Linked DNA regions of Homo sapiens: region 2 is linked to region 1. Evidence: promoter capture Hi-C in human tissues and cell types (Jung and others, 2019). All regions are on one chromosome and are shown on one strand. The core of a region is centred on a gene start or on the middle of the fragment in contact, and the rest is flanking DNA. Distances in the headings are between cores, read along the strand shown. Region 1 holds the start of ENO4 (enolase 4). Region 2 has its middle 4.6 kb from the start of SHTN1.

Evidence for each region. Contacts are between HindIII fragments. The study calls those that stand out against the background at their distance.
Region 2: a contact is called between a fragment that was not itself captured here and the fragment with the promoter of ENO4 in region 1, in 3 of the 25 tissues and cell types used here (IMR-90 fibroblasts, dorsolateral prefrontal cortex and hippocampus).

The regions. Positions count from the first base shown.
Region 1 is chr10:116,848,249-116,853,440 of GRCh38, forward strand. ENO4 (enolase 4) reads left to right here and starts at 1,251. Exons shown (of 14, transcript NM_001242699.2): 1 at 1,251-1,483. The coding sequence starts at 1,319. It also overlaps a transcript of HSPA12A not described here. RefSeq lists an enhancer at 1-67. The HindIII fragment of the contact is 11,920 bases long and covers 1-5,192 here.
Region 2 is chr10:117,007,193-117,012,384 of GRCh38, forward strand. It overlaps a transcript of SHTN1 not described here. Among named protein-coding and RNA genes, the nearest start is that of SHTN1, 4.6 kb to the left of the region's middle. The HindIII fragment of the contact is 7,810 bases long and covers 1-5,192 here.

The DNA of each region.
Region 1 (5,192 bases), core at 1-2,500:
TGATGGTCCATTACACACAGACAGTGAGACGTTCCGTAAGAGAGCAGAGAGAACACGGAGGAAGTTTGGAAGGTGCATGTCTGGGTTTGTGTAACAGTACTTATAGCATCACATTTTTATGCATCTGCACCCATACGTGCATGTATTGAAAATAACTGTGTTTCAAAGTGCTTTCTCACTCACTTCCTCATTTTGTACTAAGTGACTCGGGAAACAGGCAGAGGAGGTAAGATGATGTTTTCCAGAGGGGGGAAAGTGTGGCACAGATCTTGTAACTGATCTGCTTAGGTAGGAAACATAAACAGGCGTGAGTGGAACAAGAACACCCTGTCCGTCGCCGCCCACTCCTGCAGCAGAGGAAGTATCTAGAACTGAGGACGCACACTAAGTTCTGTAATCGCATGATACCTGGCAGGTACAATGAAGCCAGGAAGGCACTTCGGATTGAAAAGGGCAAGGACATAGGCAGCATTCTGGAGAGGGAACGTGAGCCAAGGCCATTCCCCCATTTCCGTTTTACCTCCCCAAGTCCTGCCTGAATCATCCCCCATCCTTAGGTCTGCCCAAACCACAACCATCCCTTAGGGTTCACCCCAGATATTTTCAACCCACACTGGTTTTTTTCATTCCATTGATTTCACCCCCACTAATATCCCAGAGAAGGGCAAGTGGCCGTTTCTCTCCTGGACATCATAGCAGGCCCAGCCAGCACACGGCTCGGCTCAGAGCAGGTAGTTAATAAACATGAGCCGAATGAAAGAATTCCTGAGATCGCCACCGCTCAGTAAGGATGCCCTGAGCCCCTACATCCCTCCCCCAACAGAGTGGGCCTGCCTGGCACGGGCGGCCTTAGCAACCCGGAGGAGCTCACTAACAGCAGAGAGCAAGGGGGCGCGTGGGGAGGGCGGGGTGGCCCAAGACGCTGGGCCACTGGGACCCGAGCGCGCGACCCCAGCCGGAATTCGGAGCTAAGGCTGCCGCGCTCCGGCAAAACGCGCTTGATGAGGTCGTTAAAGATTTCCCCCTCTGGAAAATCGCCAGGGAAAAGTGGTGAAAAACGAAGCCGGGAGGGCCCTAGTCTCGGGAGTCTAGGAGGAGCCCAACCCCCGGACCTAATGCCGCAGGGAGAAAAGACAGAGCAGCGAGCGCAAATACCATCCTAGCTCCAATAAAAGGGAACGACTTTTACCGCAGGAAGAACCTAGGCCTGGAAGCCACGCGAGATCTGGGGGTCGGGATCACGTTGCGTTGCCTAGCGACAGCAGGGACGCTCGTGGGACCCCAGGCTAAACCCCGCTGTAGCCTTAAATCTCCTACCATGGAGGAAGAAGGCGGCGGCCGCAGCTGTGGGACCACTAGGGAGCTGCAGAAGCTGAAGCAGCAGGCGATGGAGTACTACCGGGAGAACGACGTTCCGCGCAGGCTGGAAGAGCTGCTCAACTCCACCTTCTACCTCCAGCCTGCCGACGTCTACGGGCACCTGGTAGGGACCTGGGACAAGCGCTCTCCTCCCGCCAACCCCTCTCCCCCCGCCCCGCGCTGCGGCAACGCCTTGCGCCTGCGCCTGCGCCTCAGAATCTCGCATGCCAGCCGCCCGGGCCCTGGGCCTGCGTGTGCGGAGGAGACTTCTGGAGGGAAGGAGCGGGAAGGACACCCAGGGGTGAAGGGATCTCCCCAGAGAAAGTGGCAGAAAGGAGGCAGCTGGAGGAAAGAGGGCGCTAGGCGTATTTGACCTGCAGCGGCAGCCCAGGGGCTGGCAGGCTTCCTCGCTGCCTAAGAGGCCTCTCCGTTTGTGGGCCGGCCCACCGCCCATGCTTGCCAATTGTCATTTTTAACACATACCTTAATGCCCTCAGCTCAGCTCACCGACCTTAAGCAGCTCCTCTTTGATCACAGGATGAACACCTTGGCGTTTGCTACAACTTGGCTTCAGCCTATTCTGGGGCCTCATCCTACTGGCTCCTCTGCCGGGATGCCAGTTAATATCTGACCAGCCCCGCCCTAAACTCCAAAATTCAGACCAAAGCCTTGCCCACGTAGCCCTGGACCAACCGTCCTTCTGGGTTCCTACAGCATTTCCTTCGTGTATTGTAGTCTCTTGAGGCAGCCTCCCTAGGCAGCCTGTGAGCCCCTGCTGGGCTCAGAAGCCTTGTCTTCTCACCTTCCGGGTCTCTGCCCAGCCCTGAGATCTGGCACATACCTTAGCGTTAAGCAGTGAGCAGCTGAAGCAAAGACGTTTTCTCCCTTCCAGATCTATAAGTAGTAAGGAAGGCAGTGTGGCTGGGGCCCCTAGGAGTTTGCACTATGGCAAGGCAAAGCAAGGAGGCAATGTGAACACCAAGCAGAAGGAGTCCTATGAAGAGGCAGATGTGCTGTCAGGGTGCAAAACCACGTCGTATTGAGGCAGTTGATATAAAGGATGTTCCGCGAATGACTTTTTCCCACTCATGGCCTATACTATCAAAGGGGAGAGGTGTGGGGTTTACTGAGCCCCTTGTGCTGCGTACTGTAACTCAATCCTCAGTACCACTGCGACGAGGTAAAAATGATGATTCCCATTTTACAAATAAAGAACCTGTGGCCAGTGCAATTTAAATGATTTTCCCAAAGGACATAGTGACAGAAGAAAAAAAATCAAACCACATTTGTGTCCCTAGTACCCAGCAGAGTGCATGGCACACAGTGGATGCTGAGAAACTACCTGCAGGATGAATGAGTGAATGCTTGACTCTCATTCCATTCTCTTCCTACTATCTGTTGCTAGAGGAATTCTTGAACACAATCTATTCTAACGTCCTCATTTTACAGGGACACCAAGTCTTTGTCTCACAGCTACTTAGTGTACAAGCTAGGACTAAAAACATGGACTCTTGTTCCCCAGTATAATGATCTTCTTATTCTATTAGGCAGCCAGGATATTCGTTTGTACAGCTCTCTGGGAACTTACATCTTAGTTTGGGACAAAAGTCACTAATACATAAAATAATTGGAGCAAAAGATAAGGTGATAGATGACTGTGTGCTAGATTGAGGGGCAGATCCCTATATGCCTATTAAAGGAATTCAGGGATGGAAAAGATCCTTGGAGGCTGTATATCCAGGAAGGCTTTGGCTTGGACTTCGAAGGATGTTCAGGAATTGCAGAGGCAAAAAAGCAAACTCCTTGAACCTGGGAATCGGAGGTTGCAGTGAGCCGAGATTGCACCACTGCACTCCAGCCTCGGCAACAGAGCGAGACTCCGTCTCAAAAAGAAAAACAGAAAAAAGCAATCTCCTTTTCCTTTTCTTAGTAACTGCCCTAGTTTTGGCCGTGCTTACTCTCACCTCGTCTCTCCCTCTATCTAGTTCATCCTGCAGAATGCTGCCAGAGCAGTGTCCTAACATGCAAGTCTGACCACACTTCTCTTCCTCAGAACCTCCTGTGGCTTTCCCGTGCTTGCTGGCCTTCATGTGTGTGGTTCACAGTGCTCAGCCCCTCCCTCTGGTAACAGGCGCATCTCCCACTCCCTGCCCTCCTCCTCTACACCGAATCACTGACTGTTCCCCAAAGCCAGAAGTTTCCTACCTCCCTCCTCTTTGCTTGTCCCATTCTCTCTCCCTGAAATATCTGCTCACCACATCTCCCCCTTGACTGGCACTGAAACACTATACCTCCTCCAGTGTTCAGCTCCAATGTCATTTCTTCTGTCCCTCTCCAACATTGATATGGCTTGGCTCTATCCCCTCCCAAACCTCATCTTGAATTGTACTGCTCATAATCCCCACATATGACATGTGGGGAGGGACCGGGTGGGAGGTAATTAAATTATGGGGGTGGTTACTCTCATGCTGTTCTCGTGATAGTGACTTCTCATGAGAGCTGATGGTTTTATAAGGGGCTTCCCCGCTTCACTTTGCACTTCTCCTTCCCGCCCTCATGTGAAGAAGGATGTGTTTGCTTCTCCCTCCACCATGATTGTAAGTTTCCTGAGGCCTCTGCAGCTGTGCAGAACTGTGAGTCAATTAAACCTCTTTCCTTTATAAATTACCCAGTCTCAGGCAGTCCTTGATAGCAGTGTGAGAACAAACTAAGACAGACATATTAGAGGAATTCACACATGGTAAAGATCCTTGTAGGCAATAACAATACAATTTATTCCATCATCATAAAACTGAATGAGAGAGTTTTGGACTGGGAATGTGGCAGATCTGGTTTTGATTCTTATCTCTGCCACTTCCTCACTGTGATAGAGTTACACTGATGGTCCTCCAAGAAACTACACTTCCAGTGTGAACACCTTTTTGTAAGTCCCTCCCACACTGACTCTGGAATTGGCTATGTCACTTACTTTGATCAATAGGACCTTGACAAACACGATACAAACAGAGAGTTGATCAGTGCTGGCATATGGAAGCTTGTCCTCTTGGAATCTAGTCATCATGCTGTGAGGATGTCCCAATTACCCTACTGGAAAGAGTGAGGTTGTGTAGAGAAAGACCTTGGCAGATACGAGACCCCTCAGGATATCCTGTGAGAAAGATAGATGCCCAGCCAACCCCTCACTGTGCCAGCCATCCCAGCTACGGCACTGGACATTGAGTGAAAACAGCTTGGATATGCTGGCTCCTGTCAAGCCTCCAGATGATTACATCTGCATAAGGGACTCCAGAGAAGCCCAGCAAAAGAATTTCCCAGTTGAAGCCCCACCCAGATTACAGGACCATGAGCAAGTTAATGGTTTAAACCACCAAGGTTTGGGGTGGTCTGTTACAAAGCAGTAGATAATGGCCGGGCGCGGTGGCTCACGCCTGTAATCCCAGCACTTTGGGAGGCTGAGGCGGGCGGATCACAAGGTCAGGAGATCGAGACCATCCTGGCTAACACGGTGAAACCCTGTCTCTACTAAAAATACAAAAAATTAGCTGGGAGTGGTGTCGGGCGACTGTAGTCCCAGCTACTCGTGAGGCTGAGGCAGGAGAATGGCGTGAACCCGGGAGGCGGAGCTTGCAGCGAGCCAAGATTGTGCCACTGCACTCCAGCCTGGGTGACAGAGTGAGACTCCGTCTCAAAAAAAAAAAAAAAAAAAACCAAAGCAGTAGATAATGAAAACATTAGCTAAGTGATCTTGGACAGTTAATTTTTGTGGAACTGTCTGCCCATCTGTGGGATGGAGATGATATCACATAGCTTAGAGAGTTGAATGTAATGACATA
Region 2 (5,192 bases), core at 1,147-3,646, 160 kb after region 1:
TGGACATTTAGCTTTTGTCCAGCAGTTGGGAAACCTGTTAAACCTGATGAGTCATCCTGACTCATTCTCTCTCACTCTACCAAATACAAGCAGAGTGCCCATTAAATATTTGGCTTAGTTCACAAAGTTCCATTTTTTTTTAATGGCTGATTTGTCTACTCCAATTATACAGTAGTTAGATAGTATTTCTGGAGTTTAAGAATGAGTTAATTATCAAATCTATAATCAAACTTTTGGTTCCATACTAAATCTGCGGCCTCTTGCAATTAATCCCATTTATCCTCCTTAAAATTAGAAAAGGCTCCTGAGCTGAGATTCTGCCACTGCACTGCAGCCTGGGTGACAGAGTGAGACTCCATCTCAAAAAAAAAAAAAAAAAAAAAAAAAACTCCTGAAATACAATATGGCATTCACTTGAGGACATGGTATGAATTATTAGGAGGGCTATTAGAGTCCTTATTGGGATTCAGTTCTCCCATTACACTATTGTTTATTTATATGATATGAATATTGATGGAAAGGATAGAAGTGATAAATTAGTTTTTGTTCCGTTTAATAATATACAGAGTGATGGCTATGGGAGGCCGAGGCGGGCAGATCACGAGGTCAGGAGATTGAGACCATCCTGGCTAACACGGTGAAACCCTGTCTCTACTAAAAATAAAAAAAGCTGGGTGTGGTGGCGGGCACCTGTAGTCCCAGCTACTCGGGAGGCTGAGGCAGGAGAATCACTTGAACCCGAGAGGCGAAGGTTGCAGTGAGCCGAGATCATGCCACTGCACTCCAGCCTGGGTGACAGAGCGAGACTCCATCTCAATAATAATAATATACATAGTGATTTATGTTGCAGGCATCACGTTGGAGTTACTATTGACCTCCAAATAACAGGTCATTTAAAACCCTTAAAAATGTGTGTGTTTACATATATATATACAAATATATACATAGAGATAAAGGACAGACTTTTAAAAAATGAATTGGAAGAATATGTGCCAAACTCAGGATAATGGCTGTCTCTAGGGATAGAAAGTAGGGGAACAGGACCAAGGTGTGGGGGTTGGAGTGTGAAAGTGCAGTGGTCAAGAAGGAGTTTCTCTTTAATCTTTATTTAATTTTTCAGGTAATTAAAGTAAAATCACATATGTCATCTTTTGAGGTATACAGATAAATAAGATTGAAATACAATGAGGAGAAGAAGGTTCACTGTCTTTGATCCACTAATTCTATATCAGGGAATCTATCCTAAAAGGCTTATGTACAGAGCTATTTAATGTAATGTTAATTATCATATGAAAATGGCAATATTGGAATATTATTTGGTAATAAAAATAAAGTACTGATATATGGTACAACACAGATGAAATTTGAAAACATTATACTCAGTGAAAACTTGATCAGAAAAGACCAGATATTGTATGATTGCACTTGTATAAAATGATCACAACAGGCAAATCCATAGAGGGAGAAAGTTGATTGGTGAGTATCTACTGAGGTGGGGTGAAAGTAGGGGAGGTCTGGGAGAAAACAGGGAATGGCTGCTGATAGGTGTGTGGTTAATTGTTGGGGTAATACAAATTTTCTAAAATTAATTGTGGTAATGGTTGTACAATTCTCTGAATATACTCAAAACTATAGAATTGGCCGGGCGCTGTGGCTCACGCCTGTAATCCCAGTACTCTGGGAGGCCAGGGCGGGTGGATCACCGGAGGTCAGGAGTTTGAGACCAGCCTGACCAATATGAAGAAACCCAATCTCTATTAAAAATATAAAAAATAAGCTGGGCGTGGTGGCACATGCCTGTAATCCCAGCTACTCAGGAGGCTGAGGCAGGAGAATCACTTGAACTCAGGAGGAGGAGGTTGCAATGAGCCGAGATCGTGCCATTGCACTCCAGCCTGGGCAACAAGAGCAAAATTCTGTCTCAAAAAAAAGAAAAGAAAAGAAAATATCAACCAAATATGCACAAAAGGAAAGGAGAAAGAAGTCAAAATGATTACCAAAAACATACACATTTTTTTAAAAACTAAGTATAAAATAAGGCAATAATGAAGCAAATGAAGAGCAAAAGAGCTATAAGACATATAGATAATACATAGCAAAATTGCAGAAATAAGTCATTTCTTATTAACTGTAACTTTAAATGAAGATGGCTTAAACTCTCCAAAAGGCAAACACTGGCAGGATGCAAAAAAAAGTATGATCTAACTATATGATGTCTACAAAATATTTATTTTAGATCCAAAGACAACAATAGATTTAAAGCAAAATGGTAGGAAAAAATTTAATTAGTAACCAAAAGAGAGTTGGGGTGGTTATATTAATATCAGACAAAACAGACTTTAAGTCAAAAACTGTTACAATAAACAAAAGTCTATATTCACAAAAGGGTTGATTCGGTAAGAATATATAATTACTATAAACATATATACAAGCTGGGCACGGTGGCTCAAGCCCGTAATCCCAGCACTTTGGGAGGCCGAGACGGGCAGATCACGAGGTCAGGAGATTGAGACCATCCTGGCTAACACTGTGAAACCCCGTCTCTACTAAAAATACAAAAAATTAGCCGGGCGTGGTGGCGGGCGCCTGTAGTCCCAGCTACTGGGAGGCTGAGGCAGGAGAATGGCATGAACCCGGAAGGCGGAGCTTGCAATGAGCCGAGATCGCGCCACTGCACTCCAGCCTGGGCGACAGAGTGAGACTGTCTCAAAAAAAAGGAAAAGAAAAAAAAAACTTATGGAATACCGTGAAGACAGTGCTCAGAGAGAAATTTATAGTTCTAATTACTACATTATAAAAGAAAGATACAAAATCAATAAGGTAACTGTACACCTTGAGAAAATAGACAAGCAAAATAAACCTAAAGTTAGCAGAAGGAATAAAATAATGAAGATTAGAGTGGAGATAAAATAAAAGACAATAGAAAAATAATAGAATTAATAAAAAGCTATTTCTTTGAAAGTATCAAAATTGACAATCCTTTCCCTAAATTAACGAAGAAAAAAAAGAAATATGAAAATCAGATATTAAAATGGGGACAGTAATACCAATGATTCAGAAATAAAAAGGATTCTAAGAGAATAATAAGAACAATTATATGTCAACAAATTAAATAACCTAGAAGAAATGGACAAATTCCCAGAAACACACAAGTCACCTAAACTAACTGAAAAAGAAAATTTCAGCAGAACTATTATAAGTAGAGTAATTCAGAAAGTATTAAAAAAAGAAAAGAAAAGAAAAGAAAGACACCCTTCAATGAAAATAAGTTCAGGCCCAGATGTCTTTCCTGGTGAATTCTATCAAACATTTAAAGAATTAACACCAGTCTTTCTCAAACTTTTCTAAAACACAAAAAAGGAGAGAACACTTCCTAACTCATTCTATGAGGCCAGCATTTCTGTGATACCAAAGCCAGATAAGGATATCACAAAGAAAAGAAATGTACACACCAATTTCTCTTATGAATATGGTTGCAAAAATCCTCAACAAAATACTAACAAACCAAATCCAACAACACATTAAAAGGATTATACACCACGACCAGGTAGTACTTATTCCAGGAATGCAAAAGTGGTTCAACATAAGAAAATCAATCAATGTAATATGTCACATTAATAGGAAAAAAACCAGGTGATCATCTCAATTGAGACAGAAAAGGCATTTGACAAAAGTCAGCATCGTTTCACCATAAAAACTCTTAGCAAACCAGTAATAGATGGAACATCCTCACCATGATAAAGGGCATCTGTAAAGAAGCCACAGCTATAATCATGGTCAATGGTGAAAGACTGAAAGCTTTCCCCCTGAAATTAGGAACGAGACAAGAATATGTGCTTTCATCACTGCTATTCAACAGTGTGCTGCAAGTTCAATTAGACAAGAAAAAGAAAGAAAAGGCATCCAAGTTGGAAAGGAGGACGTAAAGCTATCTCTATTCACATATGACATATAGCTATATAGAGAAAATCCCAAATAATCTGTGAAAAAGCTACTAGAGCTAATAGATGAATTCAGTAGTTTTAGCTGAATTTAGCTCTTAAGTTTAGGTCTTTGGTCCATTTTTAGTTAATTTTTGTTAGGCCTTTTCTACCTTCATACCAACTTCAGTCTTTTGCATGTGGATATCTACTTTTCCCAATACCACTTGTTAAATGGCTGTCCTTTCCCCATTGAGTGGTCTTGGTACCCTTGTTGAAAATCAACTGGTGATATACATGAGGATTTATTTTGGGGCTCTCTATTTTATTCTATTAGTCAATATGTCTGTCCTTATGCCAGTACCATCTCTATTCATAGATGGCAAAATTTCCTATGTGGAAAATACCAAAGAATTTCTTTAAATGCTTCTAAAACAAATACTTGAGTTTAGTGAGGTTACAGGATACAAGGTCAATAAGCCCTTGAAAAGATGCTCAACATCATTAGTCATTAGACAAATGCAAAAGTCAACTGTATTCCATACACCAGCAATGAACAATTAGAATTTGACATTAAAAATTAATAACATTTACAATAGCACTAAAAATACTGAAGCACTTAGGTATAAATCTAGCAAAATATGTGAAAGATCTAGATGCCAAAAAGTATAAAATGCTGATGAAAAAAATCAAAGAGTATCTAAATAAATGGAGAGATATATTATGTTCATGAATTAGAAAACTCAGGCGGGGCGCGGTGGCTCACGCCTGTAATCCCAGCACTTTGGGAGGCCGAGGAGGGCGGATCACGAAGTCAGGAGATCGAGACAATCCTGGCTAACACGGTGAAACCCTGTCTCTAATAAAAATACAAAAAATTAGCCAGGCGTGGTGGCGGGGCCTGTAGTCCCAGCTACTCCGGAGGCTGAGGCAGGAGAATGGCGTGAACCCGGGAGGTGGAGCTTGCAGTGAGCCGAGATCGCGCCACTGCATTCCAGCCTGGGCGACAGAATGAGACTCCATCTCAAAAAAAAAAAAAAAGAGAAAAAGGAAAAAAAACCCTCAATATTGCTAAAATGTCAATTCTTCCAAATTTAACCTATAGATCCAATGCAATCCCAATCCAAATCCAAGCTGATCATAAAATGTATTATGGAAAGGCAAAAAACAAAACAAAACAAAAACTAGAATAGCCAAAACAATTCTGAATAAGAACAAAGTTGGAGGACTCACGCTACCTGATTTCCAAGACTAACTATAAAGCTACAATAA